Linked DNA regions of Homo sapiens: regions 2, 3, 4, 5, 6 and 7 are each linked to region 1. The links are contacts of gene promoters, found by promoter capture Hi-C in blood cells and fetal thymus (Javierre and others, 2016). All regions are on one chromosome and are shown on one strand. The core of a region is centred on a gene start or on the middle of the fragment in contact, and the rest is flanking DNA. Distances in the headings are between cores, read along the strand shown.

Evidence for each region. Contacts are between HindIII fragments. The CHiCAGO score rates a contact against its expected background, and 5 or more counts as called.
Region 2: the fragment with the promoter of POLI here is called in contact with the fragment with the promoter of MEX3C in region 1 in 5 of 17 cell types (non-activated CD4 T cells, naive CD8 T cells, M0 macrophages and 2 more); the score reaches 12.5 in non-activated CD4 T cells.
Region 3: a contact is called between a fragment that was not itself captured here and the fragment with the promoter of MEX3C in region 1, in 3 of 17 cell types (neutrophils, fetal thymus and naive CD8 T cells). The highest score is 6.3, in neutrophils.
Region 4: a fragment that was not itself captured here is called in contact with the fragment with the promoter of MEX3C in region 1 in 2 of 17 cell types (activated CD4 T cells and total CD8 T cells); the score reaches 6.0 in activated CD4 T cells.
Region 5: the fragment with the promoter of PIAS2 here is called in contact with the fragment with the promoter of MEX3C in region 1 in 1 of 17 cell types (activated CD4 T cells); the score reaches 5.6 in activated CD4 T cells.
Region 6: a fragment that was not itself captured here is called in contact with the fragment with the promoter of MEX3C in region 1 in 2 of 17 cell types (total CD4 T cells and fetal thymus); the score reaches 7.4 in total CD4 T cells.
Region 7: a fragment that was not itself captured here is called in contact with the fragment with the promoter of MEX3C in region 1 in 1 of 17 cell types (naive CD8 T cells); the score reaches 5.1 in naive CD8 T cells.

Annotation. Positions count from the first base shown.
Region 1 is chr18:51,195,701-51,199,351 of GRCh38, reverse strand. It overlaps MEX3C (mex-3 RNA binding family member C), which reads left to right and starts at 1,671. Exons shown (of 2, transcript NM_016626.5): 1 at 1,671-2,785. The coding sequence starts at 2,032. RefSeq lists enhancers at 1,158-1,247, 3,368-3,417, 3,046-3,651 and silencers at 1,448-1,977, 1,998-2,107, 2,248-2,327, 2,588-2,637, 2,658-2,707. The HindIII fragment of the contact is 5,421 bases long and covers 1-3,149 here.
Region 2 is chr18:54,268,024-54,271,966 of GRCh38, reverse strand. POLI (DNA polymerase iota) reads right to left here and starts at 2,450. Exons shown (of 10, transcript NM_007195.3): 1 at 2,306-2,450; 2 at 482-607. The coding sequence starts at 2,420. It overlaps LOC124904307 (a long non-coding RNA gene), which reads left to right and starts at 2,062. Exons shown (of 2, transcript XR_007066379.1): 1 at 2,062-2,141. RefSeq lists enhancers at 1,969-2,018, 2,549-2,678, 2,939-3,088 and a silencer at 2,089-2,338. The HindIII fragment of the contact is 5,901 bases long and covers 1-3,943 here.
Region 3 is chr18:47,925,010-47,928,820 of GRCh38, reverse strand. The region is part of intron 1 of SMAD2 (SMAD family member 2); the gene reads left to right. Among named protein-coding and RNA genes, the nearest start is that of SMAD2, 3.7 kb to the left of the region's middle. The HindIII fragment of the contact is 517 bases long and covers 1,642-2,158 here.
Region 4 is chr18:54,206,651-54,210,558 of GRCh38, reverse strand. All of the region lies in intron 1 of MBD2 (methyl-CpG binding domain protein 2), which reads left to right. Among named protein-coding and RNA genes, the nearest start is that of SNORA37, 14 kb to the left of the region's middle. RefSeq lists enhancers at 363-702, 793-842 and a silencer at 1,713-1,913. The HindIII fragment of the contact is 2,811 bases long and covers 616-3,426 here.
Region 5 is chr18:46,915,991-46,919,672 of GRCh38, reverse strand. PIAS2 (protein inhibitor of activated STAT 2) reads left to right here and starts at 2,166. Exons shown (of 14, transcript NM_004671.5): 1 at 2,166-2,351. The coding sequence starts at 2,328. KATNAL2 (katanin catalytic subunit A1 like 2) reads right to left here and starts at 2,071. Exons shown (of 18, transcript NM_001387690.1): 1 at 1,747-2,071. RefSeq lists enhancers at 1-509, 2,017-2,770 and silencers at 1,907-2,646, 2,717-2,796. The HindIII fragment of the contact is 2,459 bases long and covers 1,482-3,682 here.
Region 6 is chr18:54,287,513-54,291,358 of GRCh38, reverse strand. The region is part of intron 8 of POLI (DNA polymerase iota); the gene reads right to left. Among named protein-coding and RNA genes, the nearest start is that of POLI, 20 kb to the right of the region's middle. The HindIII fragment of the contact is 2,897 bases long and covers 108-3,004 here.
Region 7 is chr18:54,246,429-54,250,504 of GRCh38, reverse strand. LOC124904306 (a long non-coding RNA gene) reads left to right here and starts at 1,794. Exons shown (of 2, transcript XR_007066378.1): 1 at 1,794-1,875; 2 at 2,691-3,385. RefSeq lists enhancers at 2,252-3,138, 3,139-4,024. The HindIII fragment of the contact is 8,611 bases long and covers 1-4,076 here.

The DNA of each region.
Region 1 (3,651 bases), core at 422-2,921:
CTGGGCAACAGGGTAAGAACCCAGTCTCTACAAAAGATAAACAAAATTAGCCACGTGTGGTGATGCGCGCCGGGCGTGGTGATGCACTGGGGAGGCTGAGGCGGGATGATCACTTGAGCCTAGGAGGTCAAGGCAGCAGTGAGCTGTGATCATGTCACTGCACTCCAGCCTAGGCGACAGAGTGAGACTCTTGTCTCAACAAAAACAGAAATAATAACCTCTAGAAAAGATAGCCACTGCGTGAGATCACCTGAGCAATACTGTGGGAAGAGTGTCTAGGGAGGAGGAAACGGGGATTCATTTTCTTAAAAAGCACCAAAGAGCTGGGCGAGGTGGCTCACGCCTGTAATGCCAGCACTTTGGGAGGGCGAGGCGGGCGTATCACTTGAGGTCAGGAGTTCGAGACCAGCCTGGCCAACATGGTGAAACCCCGTCTCTACTAAAAATACAAAAGTTAGCTGGGCGTGGTGGCACGTGCCTGTAATCCCAGCTACTCGGGAGGCTGAGACAGGAGAAACTCTTTTTTTTTTTTTTTTTTTTTTGAGACGCAGTTTCGCTCTGTCGCCCAGGCTGGAGTGCAGTGGCATGATCTTGGCTCACTGCAACCTCCACCTCCCGGGTTCAAGCGATTCTCCTGCCTCCGCCTCCCGAGTAGTTGGGATTACAGGCGTGCGCCACCATGCCCGGCTAATTTCTGTATTTTTAGTAGAGACGGGGTTTCACCATGTTGATCAGGCTGGTCTCGAACTCCTGACCTGACCTCGTGATCCGCCCGCCTGAGCCTCTCAAAGTGCTGGCATTACAGGCGTGAGCCACTGCAAGGGGAAGCTCTTGAGCCCGGGAGGCGGAGGTTGCAGTGAGCCAAGATCGCACCACTGCACTCCAGCCTGGGCGACAGAGCTGGACTCCGTTTAAAAAAAAAAAACAAAAAACCCCGAAGAGCTAAACTTCAGCACCTCCAGGCTGCTGATGTAACCATCCTGCCGGCAGAGAAGCCGGGCCAGCGGGGCGTGGGAGGAGCATTCCCGAGTCCGAGAGGGAAGGCCCGGGAGCCACGCGGCTCAGGAAACCGCCCCCGCGAGGGGATAGGAGGATACTGCGTGGCCCCTCCTTCCGTGACTCTTCTTAAGGCCCTTCCTCTGAAGGGGGCGATCTCTTCCTCAACCCAAGGAAACAATGCTCTCGAACCTATGCCTGCAGCTCTGCTCCAGGCCGCTCACACAGTGCCTTCCCTAAAAGAACTCAGCCACATGGGCTACAGGGATGAAGGGTTGGGGGGAAACAAATCCAGGTGTGCGCTTCGACCGCACGCGCCTGCGCCAAAACCCCGCTTGGCCCTTAGTTTCAGCCTCTGCTGCAGCGCCTTCGTCCGCCTCCTTTTTCCCGCCCCCGCCGGGGACGTCACAAAGAGTGACGTGTAAAGTGAACAATCACAGTCCCTCTCCGCGCGTGCCGGGAGGAATGAGAGGGAGGTGGGCGGGGAGAGGACGGAAGGAGTAGGCTTCGGGAACTGGCTGGTCCCGGTCACCCAATCAGAGAGCTCTGGGGAGGGGAGGGGCGGGGCCCGAAGGAGGGTGGGGGGTGGGGCTGGGGAAAGGAGTTGGAAGGCTGCGGGAGGAGAAGGCGGGCTCCCAGAGATTAAAAGCACCCAATCAGAGCGCGCCGGCTTCATTCGGAGAGCGGCGTGGGGCGTAGCCGCCGCCGCCGCGCGCGCCGGGGGCTGGTTAAGGCCATGAAACAAAAGAAACACTGAGAGGGGAGCCGCTGCCACCTCCACCAGCCCGCCCCGCCGCCGTCCCCACCCACCCACCTAGTTACCTACCTCTGCCTCCTTCCCCTGCCCCTCCACCCCGCCCTCTCCGGTCTCCGGGCGGCCCTGGCGCTCCTCGGCCCGGGTCCCCAGCCCCGCCGCCTCCCCAGAGGAAAGGTGTTTGCGAGCTGAGCAGGGCCCTGGCCCTGTCCGCCATGGGGCTCGCCGCCTGCCGCGCCTGACCCGGCCGCCGCCGCCGCCATTGACAGCGCGCCGCCGCGATGCCCAGCGGCAGCTCCGCGGCCCTGGCCCTGGCGGCGGCCCCGGCCCCCCTGCCGCAGCCGCCCCCGCCGCCGCCGCCGCCACCGCCGCCTCTGCCGCCGCCCTCGGGCGGCCCGGAGCTCGAGGGGGACGGGCTCCTGCTGAGGGAGCGCTTGGCCGCGCTAGGCCTCGACGACCCCAGCCCGGCGGAGCCCGGCGCCCCGGCGCTTCGGGCCCCGGCAGCGGCGGCGCAGGGCCAGGCCCGGCGGGCGGCGGAGCTGTCTCCAGAGGAGCGGGCTCCGCCCGGCCGGCCCGGGGCCCCGGAGGCGGCCGAGCTGGAGCTGGAAGAGGACGAGGAGGAGGGGGAGGAAGCGGAGCTGGACGGAGACCTGCTGGAGGAGGAGGAGCTGGAGGAAGCAGAGGAGGAGGACCGGTCGTCGCTGCTGCTGCTGTCGCCGCCCGCGGCCACCGCCTCTCAGACCCAGCAGATCCCGGGCGGGTCCCTGGGGTCTGTGCTGCTGCCAGCCGCCAGGTTCGATGCCCGGGAGGCGGCGGCCGCGGCGGCGGCGGCGGGGGTGCTGTACGGAGGGGACGATGCCCAGGGCATGATGGCGGCGATGCTGTCCCACGCCTACGGCCCCGGCGGTTGTGGGGCGGCGGCGGCCGCCCTGAACGGGGAGCAGGCGGCCCTGCTCCGGAGAAAGAGCGTCAACACCACCGAGTGCGTCCCGGTGCCCAGCTCCGAGCACGTCGCCGAGATCGTCGGCCGCCAGGGTGAGTGCAGGGGTGGGGAGGTCCAGCTGGGCATGGCCCCGGGCGTGGGTGGGGAGACGAGAGAAAGGAGCGTGGGACGGAAAAGGCGAACCCGGCGAGGCCCCCAAGTCCACCGCGAAGGGGTCTGGGAGGAGCCGAGGGTCGACCAGATGTGAAGATGGGTCACCTTGCGAAAACCCACGCTTTTCCGCCCGTCTTGCCTGGTAAAAAGTGTGAAGTTTCTCGGGCGACCCAGTCCGGTGGTGTTCACGTTACTTGGGCTGTATTCGTGGAACACCAGGCTGGCGTGGCACCAGAAACCTCAGTGAGGTGGTAAAAGGTCGGGCTCGAGGAGTTGTGGGTTCGCTGTTGGGTACGGAAAGCTTCGAGATTGCAAGTTTGCGCCGCCGAGTGTCTTCTAAAAGCGTTCAGCCTCCCTTACAAGAACTTGTTCAGATGGAGAAAAGAACAGAAATGGAGGCCTGTAGACAGAGCTCACTGGGGAGGGAAGGGGTGTTCAAATGGTCGGTATCACCGCCATCCCCTGCCCCTCCGCTGTTGAGAAACTTAGCTTTGGAAAAGCAGCCCAACTCACTGCCGCCTATCTTAACTGTATTTCTCTCGGTACGTTTCAACTCTCGGAAAGACACACTGACACACTGGCTGTCTTTTAAAACTGTTCAGTGTGCAGGATGAAGAAAAAATGGACACTAAGGTAATTAAGAAACTTCATCGGTTTATACAGTTTTCAGTTAATTCTCCTCTTCACTTGCCAGCACACCAGTACTGCAGACAGACTCCTCCCACATTGTTCAGACAAAGGACCTGTGTCTCAGATTCCAGGAGTAGATTTGTGAAGGTGGGGGAAGGGGATGCCTGGGGTACCT
Region 2 (3,943 bases), core at 1,201-3,700, 3.1 Mb before region 1:
GCTTATGTTTTTACGGCAAGTTTGCTGTCTTAATAATACTTAGGTTTATGTTCAAAATCCAACTAGTTAGTTAGATGTTACACAATTTAAGAGATAATTTCAGAAAGGGGAGGACAGACGAACACTTCCACTAAAATGTAATAAGAGGCTGTTTTTGAGAACAAAGCCTGTAAAATTTCAAATAGTGAGAAAAAGAAATCTGACCAGCAAACTAAGCTACTAACCAGCACAGAAAAGTAACATTTATTCTGCTTTCTCTTCATTTGTTCTGCCGACTACACTATTCTCAGATTCACCACTTATTAAATGAGGCTTGTAAAATTTACACTTGGTAGTGAAGCAAAAATGACCAGCTATAAAGCACTGTAAGAACTGCTTCCAAAATCTTTCTTAATAAGGTTAATAAATCAGTATATAATGAGCATGATGAGTTGCTAATCTAATCATTATGCAATTAAAAATATTATAAATCTACAGTTACCTAAAGGTTTGTCTTTTAGCTCTGGATTTGAGATCATTTCTACTTGTGCATAAAAGCAATCCAGATCCACATGTACTATGACTCTGGATGAAGCATTTGGTGTGGGCAACACTTGATCATGAACTCCTGCACAATATGCAAAGAAATAAAAAGAAATTCAGGCTGCTTATTATCTCTGAGCAACTGACAGTTCCTTAAAACATGGTACCTGTGAAGGAAGAATGCAGAGTGACGTGTTTTCTCCTGGATTATGTGTGAAAGCATCGAAAAATTACAAAGACATGAAACTCCACTTAGGGTAGGGTCTTCAGTCCTCTTAATTACTGTTTGTGCACTGCGTTTTTCTCAGGATAGTAATAAGTTTGAAGGGAAAAAATGTGATAAATAATGGATGATGAAAGAGCTAATACTATCACCTGGAAGTTTATAGTAGCTCTTAGTGTAAACCAGAAGGGGCAGAAAAGTTGAAATGACGTTGATTTTCACACAGCTTGAAAATTATTCTAAGCAGCATGCCCTTACATTTAAAACAAACAAACCAACAAAAACTGAAATACAAAATGGCAAAAGACAACCAGTGGGTACAAGTGTGGGCTATTTTTAGCTCCCATGGCAGCAGGATTATCTGGTTTAATGCTAAATCGCCAGTGCCTAAAACAGTGTCTAGGACATAACAGACCACCAATAAATATTCACTAAATTGAAAGACTGAATAGTTCTTTGATTTTAAAAAGTTGTTAGGTCATTATTTGTCGGGGAGGGAATGACAGAGGCGACTCCTTCTCTCAACACTGGCTAAAAACAAGACAGGCAAAATACAATACAATATTCTGGTTGGGATCCTGGAACAGAAAATGAACGTTAGCAGAAAAACTGGTAGAATATTAATAAAGCGTGTAGTTCAATTAATAGTATTATACCAATGTTAATTTCCTAGTTTTGACAAATGTACTGAGTTTATGTTAACACTAGGGGGATCTAGCTCTGCAACTTTCAGGTAAACCTAAAGTTCCAAAATTTAAAAGGCCAGGCACGATGGCTAACTACTGTAATCCCAATACTTTTCGAAGCTGAGGTGGAAGGATCGCTTGTGGCTGGAGTTTGAGACCAGCCTGGACAACACAGCTACACCTGATCTAAAAAAATCTGAAAATCAGCCAGGTGTGGTGGCACGTGCCTGCTGTCCCAGCTACTCGGGACGGAGAGGCTGGGGCGGAGGATCACTTGAGCCCAGGGGTTCGAGGCTGCAGGGAGACCTTGTCTCTAAATTAATGAATGAAACAAAACCAGCAGGAAATGAGAACCGGTGCCTTTACATCCAGGCCCTGAGGTGGGCGGTACAAGGTAAAGACCAGAGCTGGAAGTGGGTCACCGGAGACGTGACCACAGCGGACCTGACTCCGCCTAGGTTCTGAGCCATCCCTTCCTGCCAGGACTGAGATCCGGGTCCCACCTTCTGCCAAATGAGCGACAAGGTCCTCAACTTCTCCAAAGTTAAAAGGCCCAGAAGCCTCTGCAGTTTTCGTCGGGCTGGCTGAGGGATTCCCGCCCCACCTCGCCCCTCACAGAGGAAAGGACGGCGCAGATAAACCCTCGACACGTATTTGTAGTGTGGACGCGCCCCACCCTACTCCTGCTGGGTGAAGCCATTCCTCTAGAGGTACCCGCCGCGTAACACAAGGCAGAGGGAGGCAGCCCTCTCTTAGAGGAGCCGAGTGGGGCGGGGACGGTCGCGCCCCAGTGGCCGCCGCCCCGAGCGTCCGCCTGCCCCACCCTTCTCATTTACACCCAAGGAGGCCGCTGGCTCCTCTGGCTGCGGCGCACCCTGCGAGCTGGCTGCCGCCCCCACGTCCGCCAGTTCCATGGCCCAGGCCTCGGCGTCTTCCTCGTCGTCGTCGCCGCCGCCTTCCTCCTCCGGCTCCACCCCCAGCTTCTCCATCCCGCCGCTGCCAACCGCAGCGCTACTTCCGGCCGCTTCCGCCTGGTCTCCAGGGAAACCGGGGGACTACAGTCTCCAGTCGCTCTGTGCCTCTCGCCTGCGCAGTCGTGGCCGACCAGCCTGTTGCCCAGAGTGACACGCATGCCAAGGAATCGTGGAGGCCCACGTGCGGGAGTTTTTTCCCGCCGGGTGGAGGCCGGAAGCGGAGAGATTGAAAGCACAAATGGCTATTTTTTTTTTTTTTGAGACGGAGTTTCGTTCTTGTTGCTCAGGCTGGAGTGGGCAACAGTGACGCAATACCGGCTCACTGCAACCTCTGCCTCCCGGATTCAAGCGATTCTCCTGCCTCAGCCTCCCAAGTAGCTGGGATTAACAGGCATGCGCCATCACGCCCAGCTAATTTTTTTGTATTTAGTAGAGACGAGGTTTCACCATGTTGGTCAGGCTGGTTTCGAACTCCTGTCCTCAGGTGATCCACCCTCCTAGGCCTCCCAAAGTGTTGAGATCACAGGCATGAGCCACTGCGCCTGGCCTTTTTTTTTTTTTCTTGAAGGCTTTGGAGTTAGGCCCACATCACAAATTTTAGCGTTTTGTCTTTGTTCCATTCGGCTGTTAGCAAACTTGCAAATCCCTAGACCTGAGTGATTAATGTGATGGGGTGGGAAGGAGTGTAACTGATAGTAAAGACACAGGTGGCCTTGTAAACTCATATGATTAGCAACTATGTTAAGGTTTGCTGTGTTTTGTTTGTTGTTGTTTTATTTAAAGACACTGTGACGAATTCAACCACAGAATTTTTAACATCAAAACTGAATAGGATTTGATACATGAGTGTTGTAGTCAGACAAAATCTCCAATCCAGACCCTCCATCATGCTGTGTGACTTTGGGCAGGTTACATAACTGCTGTGAGCCTCAGTTGCTCTACTCTTAAAAAAAAAAAAAAGTATTGAGATTGAATGAATGGATAAAAGCTACCATATACTGTAATATCCTAATGTATATAAAACATGTGGCACATAGGAAGTGCTCAGTAAATGTCTATTCTCCTTGCCTTCTATTAGGATACCATGTGTGCATGTGTGTGTTGGTGTGTGTATGTGTATGTTTTACAATAGAGGAAATTTGGAAATTCCTCCATGCCTGTATGTATGTATATACACTATATCTGTATAAATACCCAAATTAACACATATGTTTGGTTTTTTATATGATTCTACTTCTTATCAAATAAAATATTAGAACCTTGAGAAACCCTTTAAAGCAGCCATTCCCAACCTTTTTGGCACCAGGGGCTGGTTTCATGGAAGACAATTTTTCCACAGACAGAAGGGAGGGGGATGGTTTTGGGATGATCCAAGTGCGTTACATTTGTTGTGCACTTTATTTCTATTATTATTACATTTTAATAGATAATGAGGTAGAATCAGTGGGAGCCCTGAGCGTGTTTTCCTGCAACTAGACTGTCCCATCTGGGGTGATGGGAGATAGTGATAGATCATCAGGCATTAGATTCTCATAAGA
Region 3 (3,811 bases), core at 651-3,150, 3.3 Mb after region 1:
TGGAAACGTTCATTTTGGGGTTTTAGTAAGAAATTGCTCTTAGAGCTTGGTTTTTATACTTAGCCACACCTTCTAAAGTGCGGCCACAAGCATTGTAGGTGTTCAACAAAAGTTTGGGTTTTCAAGGTTGTAACCTACGTTTACTTAGTCATAAGTGGTCATGTCTCTACACAGTCTGTAAGTTTCATGAAATAATAGTCTTTTAAGAAACTGTGCAGGGTAATTTCCTGTTGTTTGTGTCTTATCAGGCTTGGTATGTGTTTTAACTCTTGTGTAGGAATATTGGGGATGGTTTTGGTATTTCAACAGAACTTTAGTAGGAACAAAGGTTGTTTCTATTCTACTTCAAGATGGCCAGAGGTTGTTGTCCCCTTTTCATTTTCACATTGTAAATATTAGAATCATGTTGCTATAATCTTTACTTCACATTTGGGGGAATATATGTCAATGGAAAAACTCGGTTTAGCTGTGTAAACCGCTGGCCAAAGACCTATTGAATTTTTACATTTTGCAAATACTGTCAGTTTTAAAAGTCTTTCCTTGTTCTTGTTTGGTTTTGATTCTGTTGGTTTTGTGCTTTAGGGCTCCAAAAACCTCGTTTTGTAGCAGCTTTTTTATACAGGTGTTTTTGTAATGCATATAAAAGCTGTATTTAGTGCAGTCTGGCAGATGGAGATTTATTCATATTCTTAGGACAAAGAGTCATTTTTAGAGGGTAGAGGGGGGCATGTCTTTTAGATTCTTAGTCTTTTGATGGGTGTAGAAGAGCCATTTTTAGGCCCTTAGTTTCTGTGAGAGGTAAGATGTTTTCCCCTAAGTATTCCAAAGGTATGTCAGAAAATGTGAAACGTAAGGAATTCACAACCAGTTAAGAGAGGTTATGAGAGATTATGCATTTATATATTTTATTTTATTTTATTTTGAGACGGAGTTCACTCTTGTTGCCCAGGCTGGAGTGCAATGGCACGATCTCGGCTCACCGCAACCTCCGCCTCCTGGGTTCAAGCGCTTCTCCTGCCTCAGCCTCCTGAGTAGCTGGGATTACAGGCATGCGCCACCATGCCTGGCTGATTTTGTATTTTTAGTAGAGACGGGGTTTCACCATGTTGGTCAGGCTGGTCTCGAACTCCCGACCTCAGGTGATCCGCCCACCTCGGCCTCCCAAAGTGCTGGGATTACAGGCGTGAGTCACCGCGCCTGGCCGATGCATTTATTTTCAACAAATACATTTATTCATTTATTCAACAAACAGCTTTTTCTGTGTGTCAGGCTCTGGACTAGGCAATAAAGTCTCTTAACAGCAAACAAGTACACCCCTGTTCCTTAATGGAGTTAGAAAAGTGGAAACTCATGTCCCTTGCCCTATTCTCCAGTGTTTAGAGTAAGACAGTTGTTAGTGTACAAATCAAGGGCACATGCATTACTGAGCCATTCCTAAAGTGAGCTTGCCTTGCTTCCTGTAACATGTAGCAGATAGCACTAGGGAAGATGTGAAGTGTTACTCAGTGTCACTGGGAACAATCTGTGTATTTTGGGGGGACCTTGGCACCAGTTTTGCACAGTCTATACAAACTGAAGATACGGCCAGTCTTTCAGAAACATGTTTATTGCTGAACAGATGTACACTTGTAGAGCTAAGCTTCATCTGACCTTAATTTGATCACTTATTGCCCTTTAATTACAGAAGCTGGTTAAGGAAAGAAAGCAGAGTTGAATAACTCAGTGAAAGGATCGGGAATAGTGTAAAAAGTTAGTTAAACCGAGACCCAGGATTGGACAGCAGTCTCATGTAGTGGAAAGGCCTTGGGTTTTGGAATCAGAGAGCCCTAGCCTAATATTTTGTTTCTCAGTTACAATACTGGGCAATTTACTACCAACCCCAGGCCCTTGGTTTTCTGACACAAAATGGAAGTACTAACCCCTTCCTCTTATTCAGTGATCACAATTCAAGTACCTAGAACATTGCCTGAGATATAAGGGTCCTCCCAAATGATTTCTTCCTCTCTTGTAGTTGTGGGTTTGTTACTTGGGCTCTTTCTAATCCAAATGATTTGCCTACACTGTTATTATGGACCTATTGTAAAATGTATTTGAGAAGCAGACAATGAACAACAAAGGCCTGGGATAGCCAAATTGTCCCAGTCCATAGCTTAAAGCTTAGGAGAGCCTTGGAGACCCTTAATAAGAATGTGTTGGCATTTATTTAAAGTGTTTCTAACAAGCAAAGTTATCTGGCTTCTAAACCTGCACTAGATTAGAAACAAGTAGATTATGGGTACTGTGGGAGGCTTAGAGGGGGTGTGGTGGGGGCTGGGGAGTAGGATGTTAGCCTAGTGTCTCTTGTCAGAAAAAACAGATAACAGCTCGGTGAGGATAATAGAGATAATCTACAAGACACAAAAATAGTCAAAGCCTGACTAGCATGTCTGGGGCCATTGAGTGCAGGACCAGACCTGAAAGCATAGTAATGAATGTTCATCAATTAGCCTAAATCATGTTTGGGAAAATCTTTTTAAGAGTGCAATAATCTACGTAATATACTTTAGATTGTCACTCAGGATGATTAAGAAATGTTCTTAAAGGGGTTGAAGATTGTGCTATAGCTTATGGCTTATTTCATGAAAGATCACAGTAGCTGTTATGACCAAGATGTTTTTCATTTGTTTTGCCATTCAGACAGCCATTCAGATTCCAAGCTGAAAGGGTAGCCAGCAGTAAAGAAAGGCTGTTTCAGTGTGGTAGCACCCTATGTCACCCCTTTCTTTGGTGTAAGTAATTTTTTTGTCAGTCTGCAGGAGTATCATATAAATTTTCACTTGTGCTTTGACAGTAGTGTATGCTTTTCACTGTGTTTTGAGATAGAGTATGCTCGAGATTTCTAGGATAAAGCAAGAGTGGATAGTTGGCCAGTCTCTCTGTTGAGGGTTTCTTGACTCTTGTCATGTGACTTCTGCCCAGTATTAGCACTGATAATTTTTTTGATCCCCTTTCTTGTAACCTTACCTCAGGGTTACTTCTTAAACCATCTACACCATCAGATAATTATTGGTGACCTTGTAATATGTAGCCTTGGCTGTTTTTAAGAATCAGGTTTTTTTTTAGCAGTAGTACAAAAGTACTAGCCTTTTTGGTTTAAAAATGCATAGTTAGAGGCTTATTGCTTGTCATTGATCAATTTTGATCATTTTTTCAGGTTGGTGTAATTGTGATGTATTCAGTTAGGACATAATTCAATGTTGATTCTAGATTTACATCTCAAAGATAGCTCGCAGCTTCAGTTCAGCAATTTCATGTAGGGAGAATATAATTTTTCCAAGCCAGGTGGATTTAGACACTGCCTTTAGTTTGGTCAGATAGCCAGAAATATTAGGGCAATTCTGTGTCTTCTGTGCTTGCCTCACATTGTACAGTGTGAGTGGTTCTCCTTGGCTCAGTGGGTTCCTCTTATTTGTAACTGAGGCACATTGATAGGACAGGTGCTTGATGTATCTTTAGGTTTGTAGTCTTAAGAAAATAGAAATTCTGACGTGATTAATTCTTATCAAAGTTTGTGAATTTACTGTGAAATTGTCACTAATTATCCTAGGTAGCCCTGTCATTTTTCAAAATCTGGTTTTACATTGGCCTCAAGGCTGTAGAGTAGTGGAAAGCGAGGATAGACTTTAGTTGCTTCTGTTTAGTACACGTGTCTACCTTAATGTAAAAATTTGCATTTCCTTGAATAATCTACAGTGTCATACCTTCCCTCATTTTGTGGGGAAGGGGGATGTAGTTTCACATTTAATGTATTCAGTAGGAATAATCTTGGGTG
Region 4 (3,908 bases), core at 772-3,271, 3.0 Mb before region 1:
GATTATCCATGTTATCAAAGAAACAAGAAAAGGTATCTTCTGCTATATTAGAGCGGTGATTTCAGAGTACAGTTTCACATGCAGGCAGCAGGTCTTCTGGAGATGTAATTTTATGTCATAGACTGGCAGGGCATATTATAGTTGTCTAGCTCAGGTAATGGTAATTACAGGTAAGTTCACAGTGCGACAAAATATGAGTACCACTAAATTAAAGTGAGCGTAATCTGAGTATTTCTGGTTTCAATTACTTTTTTTTTGTTATTTTATTTTTATTTTTAAGTGATGAAATGTTCCTATGTGAACTGGAAAAATACAATTCATGTTTTGATTTTCATTTAATTAGTATGTTTCTTCAGGGCTTTTTTCAGAGTTTATTTAAATAGTGGGTAGAAGAAGTTAAAGGTGTGATCACAGTTGGTTCAGGAATGGCATATCTAGGGGGCAGTTGGTAGGGAATTTTTTTTTGTGGTTGAAAGTGAAATAGTATTTCATTACTGGGATTAGAAGTAATCATAATGGGCAGAGAGAACTGAAAATGACTAATATCCTTCACTCAGTCTTCTAGAGTTTTTGAACTTCCCTAAGTTACAAATTGATGCTTTTAAAATAAAAGCTTAGTCACTTTAAGTCTTGGTGTTTCTGAGACCAGGACCTACAGCAGCCATTATTGAGGGTAGACAGGTGATTAAACTTAATCACTTTGGGTAAGACTAGAACTTAGGTGACAGTCTTTTTGTTCATCTAGCATTTATTTCCTCAGTTTGCCTCTCCCAGGGTCAGTTTGCTACTGTACAGATGGTCTGTATCTCATCTCATGGGCAGAATTCCTACTTAATCATTCCCTTGGGCCTTGCCCTCCTCCATGTTTGCTTTCACCTCCTGAAGAGTAAAGTCTCTGGCCTAAAATCCCCTGGGGCAGCCAGGTTGACTTTCCTTAAAGCACCACAGACAGACTGTAGCAGTTACGGAGAAGAAAATGGCTTGTACTACTGTTTTCTGAAGGCAGCAGTATATATGATAGATACTTGTAGCTATCCAATACAGATGTTTCATAGAATTCCATCTGTAAAACAGGAAATGGTTATTCATTATGAATAAGAATTTACTGGTTACTAGTGAATATTCCAGCTTTCTTTTGGATATGCTAATAGTTAAAACTTCTACCTTTTTTCCTTCATTGCCAACTTAGTTTATTAGTAAAGGATGTCTAGCCTTTTTGTTTATAATAAATACCTTCCTTTTTTTTTTTTTTTTTTTTTTTGGAGATGGAGTCTCACTCTGTTGCCCAGGCTGGAGTGCAGTGGCACAATCTCAGCTCACTGCAACCTCCGCCTCCCAGGTTCAAGCAATTCTACTGCCTCAGCCTCCCCAAGTAGCAGGGATTACGGGCGCACGCCGCCACGCTGGGCTAATTTTTTTGTATTTTATTAGAGATGGGGTTTCACCGTGTTGCCCAGGCTGGTCTCAAACTCCTGAGCTCGGGCAATCCGCCCTCCTTGGCCTCCCAAAGTGCTGGGATTACAGGTGTGAGCCACCGTGCCTGGCCCCCCATTTCATTTTTAAAATTAATAAACAATAGAAATAATATGAAGCCGTGTTAAACTGCTGATGAACTGCTAATCTAGATGATAAACATAAGTGATCACATTTCGTGAGTATAGCCTTTTAATTGAGTTCAAATTATCTTGATTTGGGGGAGAGATCTAAAATGAACTGGTCTCTAATGAGTTTTGTTCTGTAGAGGAACATTGTGGTGAGGCTCTATTATGTTTTCAGCTGCAGTGGATAACTGACATTTCAACTTTAAGATAAGGAACTACTTATTGCAGGTTTAATTTGTGAAGTTTGTCAATTGATTCCCTCATAAATAGCTTCCTATTTGTCTCTAAGCCATAAGCTAAGAACAGTATGCTTATCTTTTTGGTAAGAGTTACTGCCTGAGTATTTCATCTTCTGGAAAATGAATTTGTTGAAATAAGGTGTCTACTCTAGAGCTGTTTTTTATTGCACAAAAGAGATCTATGTGAGAGACAGCTGATTGAGAATTGTCATTTTATTTTATTTTATTGAGACAGAGTTTTGCTCGTTGCCCAGGCTGGAGTGTAGTGGCGCCATCTCGGCTTGCCGCAACGTCTGTCTCCTGGGTTCAAGCGATTCTCCTGCCTCAGCCTCCCGAGTAGCTGGGGTTAGAGGCATGCGTCACAACGCCTGGCTAATTTTGTATTTTTAGTAGAGATGGGTTTTCTCCATGTTGGTCAGGCTGGTCGCAAACTCCCGAACTCAGGTGATCTGCCTGCCTTGGCCTCCCAAAGTGCTGGGATTACAGGCATGAGCCACCGTGCCTGGCCACAGAATTGTCATTTTTATTTTGTGGATTTTGTGTTTTCATTTTTTTGTGGTATGTTAACTAGTTTATCAGAATGTCGTTTACCAATAACTTGAGTATCTGATATCTGATAATAAGGACCATATGGCTATTGCAGCTTTTTGTTGTTGTTGTTGTTTTTTGTTGTTGTTTTTTGAGACAGACTCTCGATCTGTCGCCCAGGCTGGAGTGCAGTGGTGCGATCTCAGCTCACTGCAAGCTCCGCCTCCTGGGTTCATGTTATTCTCCTGCCTCAGCCTCCTGAGTAGCTGGGACTACAGGCGCCCGCCACCACGCCCGGCTAATTTTTTTGTATTTTTAGTAGAGACGGGGTTTCACCGTGTTAGCCAGGATGGTCTCGATCTTCTGACCTCGTGATCTGCCCGCCTCGGCCTCCCAAAGTGCTGGGATTACAGGCATGAACCACTGCGCCTGGCTATTGCAGCATTTTATAAGTGACATAATGGCAGAGTAATGTTACTAATTTTTCATATTAATTTAGGTCATTAGTAATACTTTATTTCTTATGTGGTAAAACACATTAATCATGAAAATATTTTCTAGCTTAGTTTTAAAAATTCTTTGCCATATAACTTTTAAATAAACAATAATATTTATCCCATTGTGTCTGCAAATGAAAACTACATCCTTTAGTATTGAACTGATAACGTTTTTTGCTCTCAGAAAGTTACCTTGTTCAGTGCTAGCCTATAATGGTGTTTGAAGTTTAAGAGTGGCATTGTTGTTTGACTCAGCAAGGAAATATATAGGAAATATTGTAATGAAAATAGAATTTCGAGTGGTAGTAGATTATTTCTGACTTGAATTGAAGAATCCCAGAAGACTTCCTAGTTGAGGTGGAGGATATTTTAGCTGGGCTTGGAGGATTTAATAGCTTTTTGATAGGCAGGATGTTGCTGTGCTCCTCCTTCCATCTGGAAAGACATGACTGGAAGATTCAAAGGTATATGGCATATTTTGGTGATTTAGAGTTTGGAATGTAGGCTACCAAAGCTGGTGGGAAAAGAGTCTGGGAAAAATTATATAACAGATATAAAGCTTTCGATGACTTATTAAGGAGGTGAAGCTTTTTTGTCAACATTGAGGAGCTTGAACATTTAGAACTTGGTACTGGATGTGTGGCTGAGACATGGGGGCGCTGAAAGATTGTGATGTGGCCTTCTAGCTTGGAGAATAAAGCACTAAGTGGACAGCAGCGCCACTGACACAGGTGCGGAATATAGAAGATCAGGTTTTGGGGTGGAACTCTGGTGGGCAGAGATGGTTCAAGTTTCGGACAATATTGCGAGTGACTTGCTATTTTATTTTGTGATACCGAGTATTCTGGAAGTCTAGGTTAGAGTTGGAGTTGAGCTTTGCTTGTGTAGAATCCTGTACTCTTTCCTCTGGTTTTTTCTTGTATTGTTCTTGTTGTTACTGGTTGTTATTTTCATCTGCCTGCTGAACTCTATACCTTGAATTGTGTTTCACGAATACTTAAGTCATGTGGTTGTGGAAAAAGAATGTTGATAGCATCTTCAGT
Region 5 (3,682 bases), core at 917-3,416, 4.3 Mb after region 1:
TTAAAATAATAATTTTTATTTTTTGAGACAAAGTCTCACTCTGTTGCCCAGGCTGGAGTGCAATGGTGCGATCGCAGCTCACTGCAACCTCCACCTCCTGGGTTCAAGCAATTTTCCTGTCTCAGCCTCACGAGTAGCTGGGATTACAGGCATGTGCCACCACACCCGGCTAATTTTTTTTTTTTTGAGATGGAGTTTCGCTTTTGTTGCCCAGGCTGGAGTGCAATGGCGCTATCTCCGCTCCCTGGAACCTCCGCCTCCAGGGTTCAAGCGATTCTCCTGCCTTAGTCTCCGGAGTAGCTGGGATTACAGGAATGCGCCACCACGCCTGGCTAATTTTGCATTTTTGGTGGAGACGGGGTTTCTCCATGTTGGTCAGGCTGGCCTCCAACTCCCAACCTCAGGTGATCCGCCCGCCTCTGCCTCCCAAAGTGCTGGAATTTAGAGCGTGGGCCACAGCTCCTGGCCTAATTTTTGTATTTTTAGTAGAGACAGGGTTTCACCATGTTGGCCTGGCTGGTCTGCAACTCCCGACCTCAAGTGATCCACCTGCCTCGGCTTCCTAAAGTGCTGGGATTACAGGCATGAGCCACTGCACCTGGCCAAAACAATATGTGTGTGTGTTGTGTATATATACACAACACACACACACACACACACACACATATATATATATACACGCACACACATATATATCAAATAAACAATTACACAAATACCTACATAATTACCATGGAGACATCTCAGGAAGAAAAAGTTCAGGGTCCTAGGAGAGGTCATAACAGGGGAATTTGAATTAAAATGTGGGATGTGGGTGAGGGATGGTCTTCCTGAGGAAGTGACACTTAAAGTGAAACCTGAAGGATGAACAGGAGTTAGGAACAAAGAAGAGAGTGGGAAATTATTCTTGGTTCAAGGATCAACATTTAGAAGCCTTAAAACTTGAGGGGAGGCCGGGTGCAGTGGCTCACGCCTGTAATCTCAGTACTTTGGGAGGCCGAGGCGGGCGGATCACCTGAGGTCCGGAGTTGGAGACCAGCCTGACCAACTTGGAGAAACCTCGTTTCTACCAAAAATACAATCGCAGCTACTCGGGAGGCGGAGGTAGGAGAATCGCTTGAACCCGGGAGGCAGACATTGCGGTGAGCCGAGATCGTGCCATTGCACTCCAGCCTGGGCAACAAGAGCAAAACTCCGTCTCAAAAAAACAAAACTTGCGGGGTGCGGGGGCAGGGGAGTGGAAGGAAGACCTGGAAGTGCAGTGCGGATGAAACGAGGGGTAGTGGGAAGAGGCGGTAGGTAGGAGGCTGATTAAACAGGGCCTTAAAAGTTACATTGTTTTAAAGACCTCTCGTGTGTGGGTTCCACCCAATTCTTCAAGGAAATTGAACCCTGGACACCGTCCAGCGATTTTTCTGGCCATCTTGACTCAGCATCTTCCTTCATCCTATATCAGCACATTACGGGGGGGCCATCAAGCTTCCTTCTATCTACTTACTCTGCCTTGGCGTTTGACTCCTTCCTAGCTATCAGATTTCCCCGACTTTTTAGCATGGCCCTTCTGAGCGCTCTTATTTCACTTCTCCCCGCCCCCAACCCCACCGCCTAACTCTCCCAACTCTGCAGTCCGTGACCTTCAGGTGCCCTTCAAGGTCAGAAAAACTCGGCAAGGTTGGTACTTGCAGGACATTAGCAATTCAAAGAGGTGTCACACAACCTCACCATTAGATGGGAACAATAGCTTACCCAACACCCATATTTAGATTATTCCGCCACAACTACTCTGGGGGATGGTTTTATTTGCGGCGGCTTTCTCCGTCCATAGGCACCGCGTGAAGGGCACCGTAAGAATCTTCCCGAATGCTCCTGTCACGCGTCCCGGCCGCCTCTTCTTCCTCCCCGCCACTTCCCGAGGCCAGGCCCGCGGATAACGCCTCAGTTGCGACCCAGCTCTAGGCAGTCCGCAGGGGCCTCCGCCGGGGAGGGAAGGCACGACCTGGGGCCGAGCGGGGCCAAGCCGCGGGGCAGCACGCCGGGGCAGGCGCGGGCGGGCGCTGTCGCCGCGCGGACTGAAGGCGCGGGCGGAAGGCGGTCGCGCGGGTGGGCAGGGGGCACCGCTAGGGGCGGGGCTTCGGCGCGTCGGAGGCGGAGCTCCCGCGCCGTTCACGTGACGGGCCCGGCTGTAGCGGCGGCGGCCGCGGCGTCTTAAGCGGCGCCCAGTGCAGGATGGTGCTGGAGGCGGCGGCGGCCGTGGTGGCGGCAGCGTCGTTGGCGGCAGCGGGAGTGGGTGCGGCGGCAGCGGCGGCGGCGCCCGCGGGTGGTATAAAATGGCGGATTTCGAAGAGTTGAGGGTAAGCGGGAGTGGAGAGCGGAGGCCGCGGGGGAGGGGATGGGAGAGGAGGTGGGGAAACCGCAACGTCGCCGGCCGCCGCCTGCTCGTGCCTCTGGGGCCGGTTGGCGGAGCCCTGAGCCCCGGCCCGCGGACGAACGGGCGCCGAGGGCGCGGGGGAGGGGAGCGGGCCGGCGGAGGGCACGCGGGCGGCGCGGGGGCGGCGGGCCTGGGCCGCGGCGAGCCGGCTCCTGAGTGCTGCCAGTGGTCCGCACACCTGGCGCGGGGGGTCGGGGCGCCCTCCAGGAGGGGCACATGGGGACCCGACATCCCGGTTCGCAGTGAGGGCCGATGTGGGAAGCAACGTTTGATCTTGCACCTTCACCGGGGTGTACGTGTCTGTGGCTATTCACAAGTCTGCATGCTACTCACTTGGTGGAGGACTGTTTTCTGAAAGCTGAAGTTGCGTTTAGGAATCTCTCCTCTTCTTATGGCTGATGCTACCGTTTAGTCAGGTCTGTCACGAGAAAAGGCCCCTTCTCCCACCCTTGCCTCCTAACATCTTCGAGGAACCTAATGTTTGGGGATCCCTGCCTTCAATAATCGGCCTTAAACCTCGATATTTTCTTAGTGTTTTAGTAAGAAATCTGCAAAGTCTATGTTGTGAGGTTTGTGCACCCCTTTTACTCTTGAGGAAAAATATTTTTTTCTTCTCAGTCTTAAAACAAGATCATAACTTTATTGTTGATACCCTTGTATAGCAGAGGTCTGGAATAGGGCTGTGATGGGGGTAGAACAGAAGAGACTTTTTCCCCCCAGACTGATAACCTTTAAAGTCCTAACTAAGTGTGACGAATGAGATGGATTTGTGTGTATCGCTGAATTACTGGCGACATAAATGAGATGTTTACGGACAGAAACCCTGATTTTTTTTTTTTTTAAATGTATCAAGGTAGAGATGAGTGTAAACTTGAAATTACATTTACTGCAACTCGTTTGTGTAACACTTATGATATTAGGATTTCTTTTTCAAATAAGGAAGAGGAATCCGGTAAAAGGTTCAGTTTTGTATATTTATTGTTTTCCGCAAGAGATGGGATGGGGGAAGGATGTTGGCTGGTTACCTGCTTAGTGGACGTGAGCAAAAGAACGTATCCTCTGCTCTAAACGGAGATTGTTGGAGTTTGCACAGTGCCTGCCATATTCCCTCCTGCTGTTTCAAAAATAATTATTAAGTTCCCAGTAAACACATATTAATACATGTTATGCCCCATACTAGTTTATGCAGAGAACCATAAGTGTAGGTAAAGGGTGTTCATACTTGATAAGTTTAAGGGTTTTAGTGGCTCAGAG
Region 6 (3,846 bases), core at 307-2,806, 3.1 Mb before region 1:
ATTTGAGGCAGTGGGCAAAAGCCCACACTCAGCAGTGTTGCCAGTAAAATGAGCAAATTTGATAGGAAACGAATGGGAAGATCCCACAGCTCTGCTAGTCTGAAGCTTCAGTCGTGGTTCGGGTGAAGGACAGATCAGTGGACCAGCCAGATATGTCACCAGGAGATTTGGAAATGAGAGAACCAAAGAGGGACTACATAGGCTCCCCGTACAACCCTAGTTGACTAGGAGGCTACATGCAAATAAATGGAAGGCCACAGAGGGCCCAAGCTCCCCATACACTCCTTACTGAAAGGGCTACATGCACATCATGGGGAGATAAAGAGGGCCTAGCAGAAATTAAAATTCAAGAAAAACTTGAAAATGGCCTAATTTTTTTTCTTTTATACTTTAAGTTCTGGGGTTCATGTGCACAATGTGCAGATTTGTTACATAGGTATACATGTACCGTGTTAGTTTGCTACACCTATCAACTCTTCATTTACATTAGGTATTTCTCCTAATGCTATCCCTCCCTCAGCCCTCCATCCAGATAGGCCCCGGTGTGTGATGTTCTCCTCCCTGTGTCCATGTGTCCTCGTTGTTCAACTCCCACTTATGAGTGAGAACATGTGGTGTGTGGTTTTCTATCCTGGTGATAGTTTGCTGAGAATGATGGTTTCCAGCTTCATCCATGTCCTTGCAAAGGACATGAACTCATCCTTTTTTATGGCTGCATAGTATTCCATGATGTATATGTGACACGTTTTCTTTATCCAGTCTATTACTGATGGACATTTGGGTTGGTTCCAAGTCTTTGCTATTGTGAATAGTGCCACAATAAACATACGCGTGCATGTGTCTTTATAGTAGCATGATTTATAATCTTTTGGGTATATACCCAGTAATGGGATCACTGGGTCAAATGGTATTTCTAGTTCTAGATCCTTGAGGAATCACCACACTGTCATCCACAATGGTTGAACTAATTTACACTCCCACCAACAGTGTAAAAGTGTTCCTATTTCTCCACATCCTCTCCAGCATCTGTTGTTTCCTGACTTTTTAATGATCGCCATTCTAACTGGCATGAGCTGGTATCTCATTGTGGTTTTGATTTGTATTTCTCTAATGACCAGCAATGATGAGCATTTTTTCATATGTCTGTTGGCAGCATAAATGTCTTCTTTTGAAAAGTGTCTGTTCATATCCTTTGCCCACTTTTTGATGGGGTTGTTTGCTTTTTTCTTGTAAATTTGTTTAACTTCTTTGTAGATTCTGGATATTAGCCCTTTGTCAGATGGGTAGATTGCAAAAATTTTCTCCCATTCTGTAGGTTGCCTGTTCACTCTGCTGATAGTTTCTTTTGCTGTGCAGAAGCTCTTTAGTTTAATTAGGTCCCATCTGTCAATTTTGGCTTTTGTTGCCATTGCTTTTGGTGTTTTAGTCATGAGGTCTTTGCCCATGCTTATGTACTAAATGCTATTGCCTAGGTTTTCTTCTAGGGTTTTTATGATTTCAGTTCTAACATTTAAGTCTTTAATCCATCTTGAGTTAACTTTTGTATAAGGTGTAAGGAAGGGATCCAGTTTCAACTTTCTACATATGGCTAGCCAGTTTTCCTAGCACCATTTATTATATAGGGAATCCTTTCCCCATTGCTTGTTTCTGTCAGGTCTGTCAAAGATCAGATGGTTGTAGATGTGTGGTGTTATTTCTGAGGCCTCTGTTCTGTTCCATTGTTCTGTATCTCTGTTTTTCTGCCAGTACCATGCTGTTTTGGTTACTGTAGCCTTGTAGTATAGTTTGAAGTCAGGTAGCATGATGCCTCCAGCTTTGTTCTTTTTATTTAGGATTGTCTTGGCTATAGGGGCTCATTTTTGGTTCCATATGCAATTTAAAGTATTTTTTTCCAATTCTGTGAAGAAAGTTAGTGGTAGCTTGATGGGGATGGCATTGAACCTATAAATTACTTTGGGCAGTATGGGAAAATGGCCTAAATTTTTTAAGCCCTCTCCAACCCATACACTTATCCACTGGCAGAGGTAGACGGCTTCCAGACTCTAGTGTTTGAGCAAAACCTTTGCCAATCACTGGCTAACCATGAAACTATACAGACATGGGCAACTTCCCAGAAGCCAGTATTAAAATAAAAATTTGAATGGAAAAAAAAAAAAAAAACACTTGAGCAGAGAAATCAGTGGCTACACAGCACAGGGGAGGTAAATTCTGCAGATTACGTTCAGACAAGTTACCTAAAAAGAAGTACAGGAAACAAAAAAGAAAAAACCCTACAAGAAAAAATTGTAAATCCAGAGTTGCTACAATACATTATCTATGAGGTTCAGTTTTCAATAAAATAGTTCAAAACATGCAAAGAAACAGGAAAGTGTGATACATATTTGGGAGGAAAAGCAGTTAACATAAATTGACTTTGAGGTGAACTTAGCAAAGACTTCAAATTCATTATTATAGATATGTCCAAAGAATTAAAGACAACCATGTTTAAAGAATTAAAGTAAAATATAATGACTACAAAAAAAGGAGAATCTTGATAAAGAAACAAAACCAAACATATAAACAAAAGACAAACAGAAATTCTAGAGTTAAAAAGTACAGTAACCAAAACCAACAAATCACTACAGGGGCAACAGCGGTTATGAGATGACAGATGAATCAGAGAACTTACAGGCAGCTCAATACAAATTATCCACTTTGTAAGAAAAAACGGAAAAAAAAAAAGACTACAGAAAAATAAACAGAGCAGCAGAGACCACCACAGGGTGGAATCAGTGTTAAGGATAAACATATAGACCAATGAAACAAGAAAGTCAGGAAATAAACTCTTATATTTATGGTCAATTAATTTTTGACAAAGATGTCATGGTAATTCAGTGGGTGGAGAATAGTCTTCAACAAATGATGCAGGAACAACTGGATACCCACATGCAAAGCAAAGAATGAAGACCCTTACCGTATACCACACATAAAAAAATTAACTCAAAATGGACCTAAACATAAAGCTTAAAAACTATAAAACTTCTAACAGAAAACAGAAAAAAATATCTGTGACCTTTGAGTTAGGCAAAGAATTTTTACATATAACACCAAAAACACTATCCATAAAAGAAAAACCACACTACTATATACCGCTAGAACAACTATAATCAAAGAGACTGATAATACAAATATTGGCGAAAATATGAAAAACTGGAACCTTCAAATATTGTTGATGAAAATGTAAATTAATACACAAACTTTGGAAAAAAGTTGGCAGCTTCTTAAACAGTTCATGTTACCATATGATCCAGCAATTCCACTCTTTGAAATCTACCCAAGATAAATGAAAACATATGCATATGCCCATCCAATGACTTGCATTTAAATGTTCTTCAAAATGGAAACAATCTAAATGCCCATAAAGAAGTTATCTCATGCTATACAGTTATCACAGTTTTGTTCTCTTTGAACTTGGAAAACATTCTTAAATGACTCTTTACTTAATTATCTATTTAAAAACAAGGCCAGGTGCAGTAGCTCATGCCCATAATCCCAGCACTTTCGGAGGCTGAGGCAGAAGGATTGCTTGAGCTCAGGAGTTTGAGACCCTGTCTATCCTAAATATCAAAAAAGTTAGCCAGGTCTGGTAGCATGCACCTACTGTCCCAGCTACTCGGGAGGCTGGGGCAGAAGAATTGTTTGAGCCTGGGAGACAAAGGCTGCAGTGAGCTATCACAGCACCACTGCACTTCAGCCTTGGTGCAGAGCAAGACCCTGTCTCAAAAAATAAATAAATAAATAAACAAACAACAAAGTTTTCCAGTGAAAATTCCTGATAGAATAAAAGCATTTAATTGCTTGCTAATT
Region 7 (4,076 bases), core at 634-3,133, 3.1 Mb before region 1:
TCCATTTTCACACTGCTGATAAAGACATATCTGAGACTGGACAATTTACAAAAGAAAGGGAGATTTAAGGGACTTATAGTTCCATGTGGCTGGGGGGGCCTCATAATCATGGCAGAAGGTGAAAAGAATGTCTCACACGGCAGCAGGCAAGAGAAGAGAGCTTGTGCAGGGAAACTCCCCATTTTAAAACCATCAGATCTCATGAGACTTATTCACTATCACAAGAACAGTACGCAAAAGACCTGCCGCATGATTCAATTACCTCCCACCAGGTCCCTCCTGCAACACGTGGGAATTCAAGATGAGATTTGGGTGGGGACACAGCCAAATCATATCACACCTAATCTCCCGTAACCTTAGTTACCACATCTAAAATGATACCCAACCTATCTATCCTCTAAACTTCTGCCTTATCTATTTCAGGAATTCTTGTGAGGAAAAAATAATAAAGTAAATGTGAAAGGGCTTTATAAGAAATGCCAAAATATTTAGAAACAGTAGATATCCAAGTATGCAGAATGTGGAAGGGATCATAGAGATTATCCAATTGAACTGGGTAATTATTTTACAGATAAGGAAACTAAAAACCAGAAAGAACTCACTCACAATTCTAACTCTTGGGCAGAATCAGGTTTTCTGGTTCCTAGACCAGTACTTTCTAACTTCAGCAAACTGTCTTCCTAGGCAGAGTCCACTTCTTGGTGGCTCAAGTTTATCCTCTCCATATCATGGTTTGATATTGTAAAGAACACAAACACAAGAGCCAACTATTTTTTTAAGCACCCACTGTAGAGAGTTTAAATAAATATAAAATTTAGAAAAAGCTAGATTATTTAAAGAAAATACACAAGAATTGTAGGTGGCTTCGAATTATATTTAACATTATTTGAAATATGCCAGGACATTATTTGAAATATGCCAGGACATTATTCTTGTCCACTGAAGTGCAGGTTTTATAAAAGTGTCAACAACCAGGATCTATATTGAGCTTGTACAGATTAACCTTTAGTTCAAGGTCAGTAAGTGGCCAATAAAAGCTGCCAATAATATTATCTTTTTTCAATTGACTTCATTATAAGATGTTAAAATAGTATAACAGGTTAATAGCAGAATAGTCATGCCTGAAACCCATTTCAGTATTGATCTGAAAATTTAGACTTGCAATTATTGAAGAGGATGCTGTCATAACTAGTAGATGAAATAGGCAACAAATTAATTTGTCTATAGTGTTAGGTGTTGGAAGAATATTCTCTTTGACATTGGGTTGAATCTACTCTTTAGTGCATTCAAACAGATCTCATTGATTGAATATAAGTAGGTTAAAAGATTGGCAAGACTTGAAGTCCACAAATCTGAAAAGGTTTTTGAACTGTTCTGATAGCAAAAGTCTTTTACTGTATGCCCTATTTAATTCAAACCTTTTATTCACTTGAATTATATAAGGAGATATTAGTAGACTTCAATCAGAGAAAAGACTGCAGTTTACAGAGTTCAAGGCAGTTGTCTTAAGATGATAGAATTGAAAAGGCCTCCAAAATGTCTGTCAGATATAGAACCTTCATAATCTCAAACACCAGATTAACCCTACTGTCAGGGAAGGTTTGAATGGCCAGATCCAGGATTTTATAGATACTTTTATAGGTAATAAATTTATGATAACACTAAAAATTATCGAATTCTCAGATGGCCTCGTGTGAGTTTGTACCTCTAGCTGGCTAACTAATCATAACATTTTTTTTTTTTTTTTTCCGTGACAGAATCTAACTCTGCCACCCAGGCTAGAGTGCAGTGATGTGACTTTGGCTCACTGCAATCTCCACCTCCTGGATTCAAGCCATTCTCCTGCCTCAGCCTCCCAAGTAGCTGGGACTACAGGTGGGTGCCACCATGCCTGGCAAATTTTTGTATTTTTTAATAGAGACGGGGTTTTGCCATGTTGGCCAGGCTGGGCTCCAACCCCTGACCTCAGGTGATCCACCCATCTCGGCCTCTCAAAATGCTGGGATTACAGGTGTGAGCCACTGTACCCGGCCAGTCATGAAATTTTAAACTTTAGAAGGATAAAGTCAGTTTTGAGGTTTTTACTGATCTGTTTTTAAATATCTGGAGAAAATTTCAGGAACGAATCAATATAATTTATAATGTTGATATAATTTATAATTTTATAATGTCAAAGACAGTATTGTTCCAACACCCATGGGTATTTTGGATGTGCCTCCAGCTTATGATTTTCAATCAGAACATTTAAATTATTTTATTTTTATATTTAATGATTCCCTTACCCCCCCCCACGCACAAATCTAAAAGGAACATGTTCATCAATTATAGAGGTTATGTTCCTGAACGGGACTGTGGTTGGCAAAACTATTATTGCTAAGATCATGATCACAAAGAATATACAGTTTTAAGGGGAAAATGTATGCCATAAAAATATTATATGCATTTTTAACTCAGTAAATTAAAGGAGACGTCGTCTGCTTTTGAAACAAACCAGATTTGCTGGCATCCATACCTGCTCTGGTATTTTCCCTGAGTCACCTTTATCAATTCTTCAAGGAAAAATTTCTGAGCTTCTCAGGTTAGCATCATGTTATCAGACTATAGCTCTATTTAATGCTTTTGAATCAGCCCTTTCTGCCTTGAAATTTACTGTTTCTTTGACTTATGCTTTCCTCTGTTTCCTGTCTCAGCAAATGCCTGTGTAACACCCAGGCTTTTTACAAGGTATCTAAATACTTAAGTATTGAACGAGACAGGAGGGAGTCTGATCTTGAAGACATCTGCAAAGAAGGTGGGACAACAAACAGAGTTCTTCATTAACTGCGTTTCCGCTGAGCTGAGCAAGTCGGCCACGAAGGGAACAGAACAGCCATGTGTTTACATAAGTCAATCACAGCGTTTTATTTTTGTTGTTGTTTTTTAATCTCAAAGCCATAGTTAAAATCCCCTCCAGATTCTACTAACTCAGAAATAGACCCAAGAAGGTAAAAAATGTTTTGATTCTCAACTTTATTAGCAGTAAAAGTGGTTATGGAGGGGAAAAAGAAGTTTTATCCTGAGGTCCCCTTCCTACATCTCTCATAGCTCTACCCATGGTGAATTGGAAATGAAGAGCCCCATGTGAACAGCAAACCTGATTCTTCCACTTAGTGGCAGGGTGAGAAGCTGCTTCTGAGAGAACAAAGGCCTGTCGGGGCCTGCAGGAGGCCGAACACACCTGCCAGCTTACTGATGAGAACCTGAAGCAGAGTCAGCCCACAATGCCTCGGGGGAGGAAACCCAGAAAGGATTCTAAAGGCTGGGCCACAGCACCATTAACCCCACAATAGCCTTACGATTGTCAGACTCTCCTCCTTTCACTAATTAAATAAACATCTGTTCTTGCCTTGGGGAAGAACAAAGATGGGGGGTGGGGCTGTGGAGAGACAGAGAGAGAGAGAGAGAGAGTGTGTGTGTGTGTGTGTGTGTGTAAATACAGCGTCTCTGAAAGAGGAGAACAGAACTCTTCATTATTCAAATGGTAAAGACCAAAAGGGTTTAAAAACTATCCCCTCTTTAGGTTGATTTTTTGTAGAGACAGGGTTTTGCCCTGTGGGCCAGGCTGGTCTTGAACTCCTGGGCTCGAGAGATCTGCCCACCTTGGGGCCTCCCAAGGTGCTGGGATTCCACACCCGGCCCTGAAAAGACGCTTAACATTACTAGTCATCAGGGAAATGTAACTTAAAATCACAATGAGATGCCAATACACACACCCACTGAAAGGCTAAACTTTTTTTTTTTTTTTTTGAGACAGAGTCTCCCTCTGTCGCCCAGGCTGGAGGCTGGAGTGCAGTGGCATGATCTTGGCTCACTGCAACCTCTGCCTCCTGGGTTCAGGTGATTCTCCTGCCTCAGGAAAGTCTCAACTCTTTTAAAAAAAAAAAAAAAAAAACTGACTCTACCACATGAAGATGAGGATATGGGGCAACTAGAACACTTAGACACTGTTGGTGGGAATGCAAAATGGTGCAGTGACTGTGGAAAGTTGTTGGTAGTTTCTTTAAAAGTTCAATATACATCTATTATGTGTCATTCCT